Regions from separate parts of the Homo sapiens genome. Here regions 2 and 3 are each linked to region 1. The links are contacts of gene promoters, found by promoter capture Hi-C in blood cells and fetal thymus (Javierre and others, 2016). All regions are on one chromosome and are shown on one strand. The core of a region is centred on a gene start or on the middle of the fragment in contact, and the rest is flanking DNA. Distances in the headings are between cores, read along the strand shown.

Region 1 (3,613 bases), core at 760-3,259:
TTGGCAATTGAGGCCTTAGACTAAATCTTTATATGAAATTTTAAAGCCCATTACAATAGCACCCACTAATCCAATGATTAGTGGCATGATTCACTGCAAAAAAATCTTCCACAGACTTCTGAAAATATTTTAAAATGTTAAAAAGGAACATGGTATTATTATAGAACTTTTAGTTATGCTATAAAATAAATTTAAAGTTGGCCACTTTCAATTGAAATCTTATAAAAGAGCATATTACATACATTTTTTAACCAGTGGCAAAAGAAGGAAATAAGCGTTGAATATCTTGGTATAAAAACCTAGTATTTCATTTCATGCATCTATCATTCAAGAGGTATTTTAAAAATACAGAGTCATGGTGCTTTTGGAAGTCTAATATTATGACATGTAATTTATATGGACTAATAGCACTATGTTCTCTCAGACATCTTATTTTGTAATATTCAATTTTTCAAGACCTAATATTAACAGAAAGAAGAAAATGTTATAGACAATTCAAAGTAATCTGTCAAGTTTTAAATTTACCAATATTTTTTTCTTGTCTACTTTGGAATAATCACTTCGCTGGTACTATTCAGCAATCTTCATTCGTCCTGTTAGTTTCTTAGCACAAAGATTAATTCCAAATTTCCTCCACTCCACCTCAAATCCACGATCCTTCTTAATACTTAATTCCTTCTTAATATTTTATTTTCTATATTACCTTTGTCTTCCACTGTGGCATTATTCCCAGTAAAGACAAACATCTGTGTACCTTCACCTCCTATTGGAAAAATCATTCCTGTCTCTAGCATGACTGATAGATTAATTACCTCAATTCTCTTTTATCTTCCGTATCTTCCTACGAGTCAACTTGGTCTTAAGTTCCCTTTTACTCAAGCTCCTGTCTCCTCTAAACTGCTCTTCTTAAGACTACCATAATCGACGTGTGAATATATTAGTGTAATCGTGTTTGTAACTTGGTAAAAAAACAAAACACTATTTAGCAAACTGAAGTAACAGAATTTTGTTCATTTTTCTACGGGACATTTTAAATGACCTATTTCTTTAAAGTTTTGTCTGTATTACAGGGCCTTAATGTCTAGTTTCACAACTATATTAACCAAGCCTGAAGCAGGCTACAGTTAGGCAATATTTTCCAATATAAAGACCTCTGATTAAATTCTTACTGTGAATCTTCGGAATTTGGCATGAAACAGAACAAGCATGATTGCACCTGTTCTTCCCTATTGTAAACCATCTTCGGTGTCAACATATACAATAAGTTTTGTGGTATTTCCACCTGGTTTTCTATTTTCAAAGTACCCTTGTATGACACAGGTATAAAAATATTTTGATTCTAATCTGCCATTTTCCTTACTCTCACACTTTTTTGGACGGCTTATAATTTTCGATATGGTACAAAGCTCACTAACTGGTTCTTTGCTAGAGGCCTGCTACTGATACTGATGGTCGCTAAATGCTAGGTACGCCGCCAGTATTGCTCTTACTTCAATACCGACATCGCAGGATAAAGGCAGTCACATTTAGGCGCGCAAGCGCAATTCTTGATTAATGAGCCAAGGCAGACTTCTCAATCCGAGTTTTGAGTTTTCCTTACTTTTCCCCCAAATGCTCTTTTCCTCGGATTTCACATCGATAGCACTTATTCGAGTTTTCACGAGTAACCTGACGCAGGCGGAACCGACGAAGACTAGCCGGCAAGAATCCTACAGTCGCAGCCATCTGCGCAGCGTCCGCCGGGGACGCTCCGCGCGGAAGACCGCCTGTGACTCGACACACTCTCCAGTGACGCGGCCGTCGCCGCACCTGCGCGGCGGGGCGGGAAGGAGACTCCCAGCGCCGGGGGGAAGGGAGTCTACGACTCGGGAGGGAGGTGGGGGAGCAGGGAGGGAGAGAGGGAACAAGGGAGAAGGAGAGAGGCGGACAGGCGGAGGGGCGGAGGGGCAGAGGGGCGGAGGGGCGGTCCTTCCGGAGGTTCTTAGGTCCTTCACTTCCTGTTTGCCGGCACTTCAAAATCCGGGTCAAAGGGTGTCGCTTCGGTCTCTTCTCCCCGGCTGATCCCAGCACTCTCCGTGACAGCGCCTCCTGACTCAGCCCAGGACCGGCTTCTTCTCACGACCTGCTGGAGACTGGACGCCCACACCTGACCCGGAACTCGGAGGCGTGCTTCCTCCACCCGCCGGCTAGCAGCCCCGGGCCCTGAGCTCCCGCCGACGCCGCTGGGGGGCCCGACAGGCCCCTCGGCGCTGATGCTGAGTGGGATCGAGGGCCCGGGGCGGCGGCGGAGTACGGGCCTCTGGCGCCTTAGGCCAGCCGCAGGTGTCGGTTCTTAGGCTCTCCAGGCTCGCTAGCTCCCGCCCCGGCTTGGATGGGTCTCCCTGCGCCATAAATGTGGCTGCTGAGGCGGCGGTGGCCGTGGCCCGTCGCGCTGCTGCTGCGGCGCTCCAAGTTCATCTCCGCCCCGGGGCTCTCCTGCCCCACCTCGGGGCTGCCGCCACCCGCTCCTTATCCCCTGGCCCTGGCCTTGCAGCGTGGCGACAATGGACAAGATCCTGGAGGGCCTTGTGAGTTCCTCGCATCCCCTGCCCCTCAAGCGGGTGATTGTGCGGAAGGTGGTGGAATCGGCGGAGCACTGGCTAGACGAGGCGCAGTGCGAGGCCATGTTTGACCTGACGACCCGGCTCATCCTGGAGGGCCAGGACCCTTTCCAGCGGCAGGTGGGGCACCAGGTGCTGGAGGCCTACGCACGATACCACCGGCCAGAGTTCGAGTCCTTCTTCAACAAGACCTTCGTGTTGGGCCTCCTTCATCAGGGCTACCACTCTCTGGACAGGAAGGATGTAGCCATCCTGGACTACATTCACAACGGCCTGAAGCTGATTATGAGCTGTCCGTCGGTGCTGGATCTCTTTAGCCTCCTGCAGGTAGAGGTGTTACGGATGGTGTGTGAGAGGCCGGAGCCGCAGCTCTGTGCCCGACTGAGCGACCTTCTGACCGACTTTGTGCAATGCATCCCCAAGGGGAAATTGTCCATCACGTTCTGTCAACAGCTGGTTCGAACGATAGGCCATTTCCAGTGCGTGTCCACCCAGGAAAGAGAGCTGCGGGAATATGTCTCCCAGGTGACAAAAGTGAGTAACTTGCTGCAGAACATCTGGAAGGCCGAGCCTGCCACACTACTGCCTTCCCTGCAAGAAGTTTTTGCAAGCATCTCTTCCACAGGTAAGGGTCATTATCTTTCAGAATATCTCATAAAAAATCAGTATATGTCTCTCTTGCACACACACATTCACACCATGTTTTCCTCCTGCCCTAAAAACATTCTTAAGCGAGAGCAAATCCTAATACCTCATCCCAAATTTATTCACATTCACTACCTTATTCAGGACGTCACATCGTACTTTAAAAACAGGCAGCGTTCCCATTTTAAAGGTTGAGAACGTCCAGGTCTAAGACCTTTGGCACTAAACAAGTTGCTTAATTACCCAGCCTCTGCTCAAGTTATTTGGAATGCTTTGAGGATGACAGCTACTGCAGAAAGCTTCCATTCATTAGTGACTAATGGTAGCATGATGTTTACCATAGTATTTATTGTACGTGTCTCTAATTT
Region 2 (3,613 bases), core at 488-2,987, 7.9 Mb after region 1:
GAGCCACCACCTGGCCAAATTAACCATCTTAATCATCTTTTTAAAAAAGAGATGGGGTCTCACTATGTTGCCCAGGCTGGAGTCCTACTCCTAGCCTCAAGTGATCCTCCTGCCTCTGCCTTCCGAATACCTGGAACTAGCGGCCTGAGACACCTGGCAGGGCTACCTTAACCTTTTTTAAGTGTAGAGTTCAGTAGTGTTAAGTACATTCATACTATTATGAAACTAAGACTTTGAATTTATCCTCCAGGCAACTGAGATTTATGGAATTACTGAAAGATTTCAGGACCCTACTAGAGGTTTAGGAAGGTTGTCTTGGGGGGTGGGTGTAGTGGGAGGTAGGGGATGGAGGCTAGCAGGACTGGAAGGGATTGTAAGTTTAAAAGCTTGCAGGGGGCCTTGTAAGTAAGGGTTGGTTTTGGCTTGGTCACAGGGTTTTCTGCCAGAGGGGAAGTTAGAGAAGGGAACTCAACACACCACTGGCTGAGTACCAAGCCTGTATGGGCCAGATGCTTTCCGAGGGCTGCACACTTGAGCTAGCCAGCCACACCTTGCCAGGATGTGCTCTGTTAACCCCTACAGTTAAAAAAAATGGGGGAGGCGGGTTTGGATTAGTTGCAAAAATGGAAACATTTGGAGATCTCACTTTTTTTTTTTTGACGCAGTTTCACTCTTGTTGGCCAGGCAATGGCGCGATCTCGGCTCACTGCAACTTCCGCCTCCTGAGCTCAGATTCTCGTGCCTCAGCCTCCCGAGTAGCTGGGATTACAGGCACCCACCCGGCTAATTTTTTGTATGTTTAGTAGAGACGGGGTTTCACTATGTTGGCCAGGCTGGTCTCGAACTCCTGAGCTCAGGCGATCCGCCCGCCTCAGCCTCCCAAAGTGCTGGGATTACAGGCGTGAGCCACCGCGCCCGGCCAACGCCCTGCTAATTTTATCATTTTCTTGTAAAGACGGGGTCTGGCTGTGTGGCCCAGGCTAGTCTCCAATTCCTGGCTTCAGTTGATTCCCCTGCCTCAGCCTCTTAAAGTGCTGGGATTACAGGTGTGAGCCAACGAGTTCGGTCTCACTCTATTTTAAAAAAACCTTTTAATCAATATATAACAGACATATAGAAAAGGACACAAATAAGCGTAGAGCTTAGTGAATGTTCACAAAGCAACAACACCTGAGATGAACCAGCATCCACATCAACAAGCAGAACGTCGCTAGCATCTCTGGAGTGATGCTCATTTAGCCCTATGAAACCTCATGAAGCCGACCGTTTTATCACCCCCATATTACGCATGAGGAAACAAGCGTGGAGAGGTCGGTCTCAAGCAAAGCCCTGTTGAAACCGGCATTTGAATCAGATCCGCTGACTGACTCCAAAGCCAATGCTCTCAAAAAGCAGGTTTGGGGGTTAGACGGTGAGTTCAGCTTTGAACGATGTTGAGTGGGCGTCTCGTTTTACAGAAACTTACTTCCCGACGTCACAGCCACAGAAACCACAGGTAACCAGACGCCTGCACGTCAGGCCACCGACGCCTTGGTCTACACAGCGCAGCCTCCAGTGAGCCCGCGGCATGCCGCGCGGCCTCCCCACACACGATGGCGATGTCGCAACCACAGTAGAAAGAGTGGCGCTCTCTACTGTCCCGGAATTCTTGAGGCCGGAAGAATAACAGGGCAAAGGTCACGTAGACGGCGCGCCCCGCCCCCGTACGCCTAAGTTCTCGCGCGACTCCCACTTCCGCCCTTTTGGCTCTCTGACCAGCACCATGGCGGTTGGCAAGAACAAGCGCCTTACGAAAGGCGGCAAAAAGGGAGCCAAGAAGAAAGTGTAAGTCGCGACTGTCGTGGCGTCTTGCTTTTTGGGGGTCTGCTGGAATCGGCGGGCTGGTCCTAGATCGCGGCGTAGGCCGGATGGCGAGGATTCCAGTCGGATTGTGCGGGCCGTGGCGGGTTGGTGCACCCAGGAACGCGGCCTGGAGGGTCGGTGTTGAGTAGCGGCAGGTCGGCTGCCTTTCCCAGGCCTTCTGGTCCTTGCGCGCGTCGCGTTTGAGCCGGCTTGCCGGCGCGACTCGGCTGGAATGTTAGTTTTGTGGGCTCACGAGCTGCCTCAATTCTGCGAGTGTTTGATGGCACTGCGACAGCAGGAGTTGAGGAAAGCACCCTTCTATCCATTCAGGACCCGTCAATCTCGCCTTTGCTTGGTCCCGCTGGAATCTGCGAGCTCCTGCTAAGCTTTGGGGCCATGCAGTCTCTTAGTTACCAGTACATGCCATTACGTGCCAGCAAAGTTAATGAGATTGCATGTTACTCGTGCCTGTGTAGTGGAAGGACCGATGCATGTTATTCTAAGTGCCTGTGTAGTGGATGGACCGATGAGGGTGGGAAGTGGACATAACCTTTCAAAGTCTGATGCATGCAGTGAAACGTACAGTGGGAAGAGCTAGATTTATGTTTGTTCCCCTCACCTCACTGTGAGATATACTTTGGTATCAAATTGCCGGTTAGCTTTTTAAAATATTAATGGGAAATACCATTAACAGTGAAAAATACAGTAAGAATTGATCTGCAATGGAACTTAAGCATCTTCTTAAAATCCAGGGTTGATCCATTTTCTAAGAAAGATTGGTATGATGTGAAAGCACCTGCTATGTTCAATATAAGAAATATTGGAAAGACGCTCGTCACCAGGACCCAAGGAACCAGTAAGTAGCTTATTCTTGGTTTGTATTTTCCTTAAGTTGGCGCTTGTATATTGTAGCAGGCATCTTGGTCTGTTGTTGGTCCTGTGGTGGGAGACTTTAAGGAAATGTCAGCTCTTGGTTGCAGCCTTGGCACCTGTGGTGATCATTTTTAGTACAGCACTTGGAGAGAAGCAAGATGGTGCTTTTTGAATTAAGAAAATGTGCCATGGGTAGTTCTGAGCTTCAAATAAGTACTGTTGATAAGTCACTGGTGTCTGGATAGATTTGATAACAAAGGTTAAGGTCTTTATAATTTACCATTAACTTAATTTCTACCCTCAGTTTACAGGCTTGACTTTGCTTATATGGTTCCTAAATGTTAAGATACTTGTTTTTTTCTTTTGTAGAAATTGCATCTGATGGTCTCAAGGGTCGTGTGTTTGAAGTGAGTCTTGCTGATTTGCAGAATGATGAAGTTGCATTTAGAAAATTCAAGCTGATTACTGAAGATGTTCAGGGTAAAAACTGCCTGACTAACTTCCATGGCATGGATCTTACCCGTGACAAAATGTGTTCCATGGTCAAAAAATGGCAGGTGAGACCCAAAGTTCCTTAGAGTGGTTGTGCTATGGGTGTTTGACCAAGGATAGCATGGTTTGATGACTGGAAGGAGCAAGTTCATTTTATTTATTTATTGAGACCAGTGAAATGTCCACAAAGTTCATTTTAAATTTTTGTTTTCTTGCCGTTGTTGAGTGCTAACTCTGGGGTTGCCACACCATATTTTACTTACTATTTAAATCTAAGATTTAATAGTGGTGTATCATCAAAGTCAGATTTTCTTGCTGCATAGATTAGTGGTTTTTTGAGGAACGTTTAGGTGCAGGTGGGCGGTTTTGCCTGTCTTAAGGATGTTTTTTGACCTCAGAATTGAGT
Region 3 (3,613 bases), core at 359-2,858, 5.3 Mb after region 1:
GGCTACGGAAGACCTGAAGAGAATCTATACTGGAGATGATGGGTACCAAAGACAGTCTTAAAGCCCTGGACAAGGTAGCACCTTACCAGCTAACATCATACAGCTGATCACAACTTTCCAAGTCCTGTTTGGCTAACCTTGAACTCCCTTAATAACATAAAATAGGCTGTGTTTCACCACATTATTGACAGGAGTCTCATTAAGGAATTTGCAAAAGGCTTTGCTGAAATCTAAATTACTTTGTTTAAGGTATTCTCATCTACCAACCTAATGCACCTCTCAACAAAGGAAACAATACAGATTGGCAATAGTCAAACACAAAAGAATACAAGACATCTAGCATCTGCACGGCTTCTACACAAACATTTTTTTAAGATCAGATATTTTTCAAATAGCATTATTGAAATATTTTGAGTCTCCCTAGTATTTTAATTAGTCTTTTCTGTAAACAAATGGGTCCAGTTAGGAATTTATTTACTATGTCATCCAGGAAGCAGAGGTTATCTTTTTGCAACTGGCACAATGACCATGGCTTGAGCAGAATTTCAGTCAACCTGTACTAACTAGTGAATACTGAAAATACTAGTCGATGAATATGATCCTCATAGAACTTAATATCTAGAGGATAAAGAAAAAGTTTATGTTACTAAAGTATAAAATGAAGCAGATAGAGGTATACAAATCTAACTAACAAAAATCAGGCTTGCCTGCCTCACAATGGAAACCATACCAAAGATTCTCTTAGGACAAATGCAAAAAACATTATGAACTTTTAATTTTCATGCAAATGGGCCTCGCCCCAAAACACAAAAAAAAATTCACTAAAGGAAAAGCACTGGTGGAGGTGCTACTTTAAGCCATACATATGCTCTCAAACACAAAAGAAATGCTGTTTTCACAAAGGAAAACCTTAAAGTTTTACGTTTTACAGTCTGTGTTAAATTGCCCTTTTCCATAAAGAAGTACTTTTTTCGGGAATATTAACAAAGATCCTTGCGAATTTGTATTTTATCTGGAAACACTTTCACTTTTAGTAACCCCCAAAACCCAATCTCATCATGATGGAAATGATAGAAAAGGCATCTTTTTTATATTTATTTGACTATAAGATGGCACTTTAAAGACTAAAGCTTAAGAATCTCACAATCATCTATAGACTGCATAGTTGTAAAAGTTCACTATATGTAACTATTTTTTGTCATTCCCCACTACATAACTATTATGTTCCTCTCTTTTATAGATGAGGTAAATGATAGAAATCTGCCCAAGGTCACCTGAGAGAGCGGGAGAACCAGTTAGAACTGAGCACACCTGATTTCTATTCACTCACCTAATTTACCGAGCCACCTGATCTTTCCAAAAATCGCCAAACAAAACTATGCCTCCCTTAAAGGAAAAAGCTCCACTTTAAATTATTTTTTAAAACTTCTCCTCTCAAGCTTTTCCATGATAGCTGCCACGATGTCAAACATAAAATTTAAACTTCACAGCAGGACTTCACAGATGGAGAATGCTGTTATCATTACTATGTAAATATCATCAATAACAGCACCTAGAGAAATGGCAATACAAAATGTTAGGAAGCAATTTGGTGCCTTTAAAATTCGGCGGTTTCAAAAGCTCGTCTGCTATCAAAAGTTTTCCTAACTCCTATGTCATAATAAATAATTAAAACTGATGGTGCCATAAACCATTATTATTTAAACCTGGTCTTTTTAAATTGAGTAGGCAAAGCCACGCACCTAAAATTCAGTAGCAGAGTAAGGATGCCACCAAAAGAAGCTTCGTCCCCTTCTCCCTTGCCCTTAAAATTCCAACTGATGCCATAGGAAGCGTAGCCTGTCTCAAGAGTTTCGCGAATGCTAGCGAACGGGAAATGCACGAATTTCCAGAGCCCCTTTTATACAGGATCTATTAGGATCTATATCTCCTTCAACTGCCCTTATGCGCTACACCTCCGGCTGAGATTTGGGAGCGTCCGCAATTGATAAAGGAAAGAAATATTATTCAAACGTCCTTTAAAAATTGTACAGGGAAAATGATCCGAAATTCATCTTTGGGTAAAGGGAAGGGTGGTAGACCTCCCACTGCCAAAGGCAGTTAAAAGCTGCTAGTTAGAGGGCATTTATCCAAAGTGGCCAAACTTTCCCAAAATAGTCCTCTGGCGGCCAAAGGGGGAGAAAAGTGGAAAACCAAAACAAAACAACAAGCACACAGCACCATACTGACTGTGCCTCCGGATTACGCAGCCACTTCTCCCTGCAAAGTGCACGCTCCCGCGCCGCGGCCGCACGCCGAGCACGGCAAGCGGTGCCCCGCCGCGCGCCCCTACACACCTGCCTCGGCCGGGGTCCGTCTCTCGCCGTCTACCTGTTGCAGCGCTTGCCACCGCCACGAAACCCCTGCTGCGGAGCCCCCCTAAATCCAACCACATCCAGGCCAGCGAGTGCCGCTCTCCCTGCAGCGGGAGAGCCCGAGGCAGCAACGCTCTTGCACCCAGGTGACTGACTGCACGGGCTTCCTCTGAGCAGCCTGAAGTTGGCTCCCGTCTCCCGGGCCCAATGACACCCCGGGCGCGGAGGGGCTGAGAGGAGGGGGCAGGGGCAGGGGCAGGGCCAGGGCGGGCAAAAAAGGGAGGGAGAGAGGGCGGGCGAAAGCCCGGAGGGGGAGTGGGCCAGCTGGAGGGCTGGCCCTTTTAAAAGCGGGTCACATGTCCAGATAAAGTTCAGGTTGCTATCCCGCCCCCCTGAACCCTTCCTATTGGCCCGAAGAGAAGCAAGGCTCCACGCCGCACGGGTCAGGCGGGCTTCTTATTGGACAATCCAGGCTGTCAGTCACCAGGCGGGCGACATGACTGATACAAAGTTGCTGCGACACAGCCTGGACTCGGCAGCTTCCTTAAAGCCGCAGCCGCGGCGGGAGCTTGGGGTGCCGGGCGGTGGCTACATCAGGCGGCCTCCGCACGCTGCCCCCACCCCCATCGCTCGGCCGCCCCAAACTTGCTTACGTCCACCCTGCTCTCCTTCTGACCGACCCCAGGATATCTGGAGAGATGTGAAAAGTGTGCTGACGCGGAAGAAGTCGGTTTTTCCGCGAGCAAAGTGTCGTCCCCTCACGCTCTCCACCTGCAGCTCCAGGTGAGCTGCAGCCCAGACCCTGGCGCCGCCCAACAGCGTCCGCGCGCGGGGAGGACTCTGGGTGGGCTTCACCCGACCCTCGAGGTTCCTCTCCCAGCCCCTTTCCACTGTCTCCAGAGTTACCTCTCAGCAGAGCAGCAGCAGCCTTCGCTGCCAGCGAGCAAGACGATCACGTTCACTCGATTTGAATTTAGTTGTTTTAACCGTGCTGGAAAAACCCTTTAAACACAGCTTTCCTCCCATCCCTTAGACCCCTAACACCAAAAAAAAAAAAAAAAAAAAAAAAAAAAAAAAGAGAGAGAGAGAAAGATAAATGAAAGAAGTGGCAGGGTCAAGAGCTGCTCCTCTACTTCCTTATAATTTTGTCACTGTACTTACTACTTTAGTATTGGATTTTTCCACTAGTTCAATTTGAAAGCAAGCTTACCATCGAGGATATTCACGTTATAATGGGTGGAGGGGGTGGGTCACATAAG

Evidence for each region. The method cuts DNA at HindIII sites, captures the fragments that hold promoters and counts their contacts. A CHiCAGO score of 5 or more calls a contact.
Region 2: a contact is called between the fragment with the promoter of RPS3A here and the fragment with the promoter of USP38 in region 1, in 1 of 17 cell types (non-activated CD4 T cells). The highest score is 7.8, in non-activated CD4 T cells.
Region 3: a contact is called between a fragment that was not itself captured here and the fragment with the promoter of USP38 in region 1, in 1 of 17 cell types (non-activated CD4 T cells). The highest score is 5.5, in non-activated CD4 T cells.

Annotation. Positions count from the first base shown.
Region 1 is chr4:143,182,908-143,186,520 of GRCh38, forward strand. USP38 (ubiquitin specific peptidase 38) reads left to right here and starts at 2,010. Exons shown (of 10, transcript NM_032557.6): 1 at 2,010-3,225. The coding sequence starts at 2,544. USP38-DT (USP38 divergent transcript) reads right to left here and starts at 1,954. Exons shown (of 4, transcript NR_185979.1): 1 at 1,601-1,954. RefSeq lists enhancers at 1,060-1,945, 1,946-2,830 and silencers at 1,882-1,931, 2,152-2,401. The HindIII fragment of the contact is 4,447 bases long and covers 1-3,542 here.
Region 2 is chr4:151,097,891-151,101,503 of GRCh38, forward strand. It overlaps RPS3A (ribosomal protein S3A), which reads left to right and starts at 1,738. Exons shown (of 6, transcript NM_001006.5): 1 at 1,738-1,824; 2 at 2,595-2,698; 3 at 3,085-3,272. The coding sequence starts at 1,763. RefSeq lists enhancers at 648-717, 995-2,194, 1,493-2,077, 1,498-2,057, 2,078-2,661. The HindIII fragment of the contact is 1,842 bases long and covers 385-2,226 here.
Region 3 is chr4:148,439,824-148,443,436 of GRCh38, forward strand. NR3C2 (nuclear receptor subfamily 3 group C member 2) reads right to left here and starts at 2,591. Exons shown (of 9, transcript NM_000901.5): 1 at 2,337-2,591. RefSeq lists a silencer at 2,499-2,788. The HindIII fragment of the contact is 343 bases long and covers 1,438-1,780 here.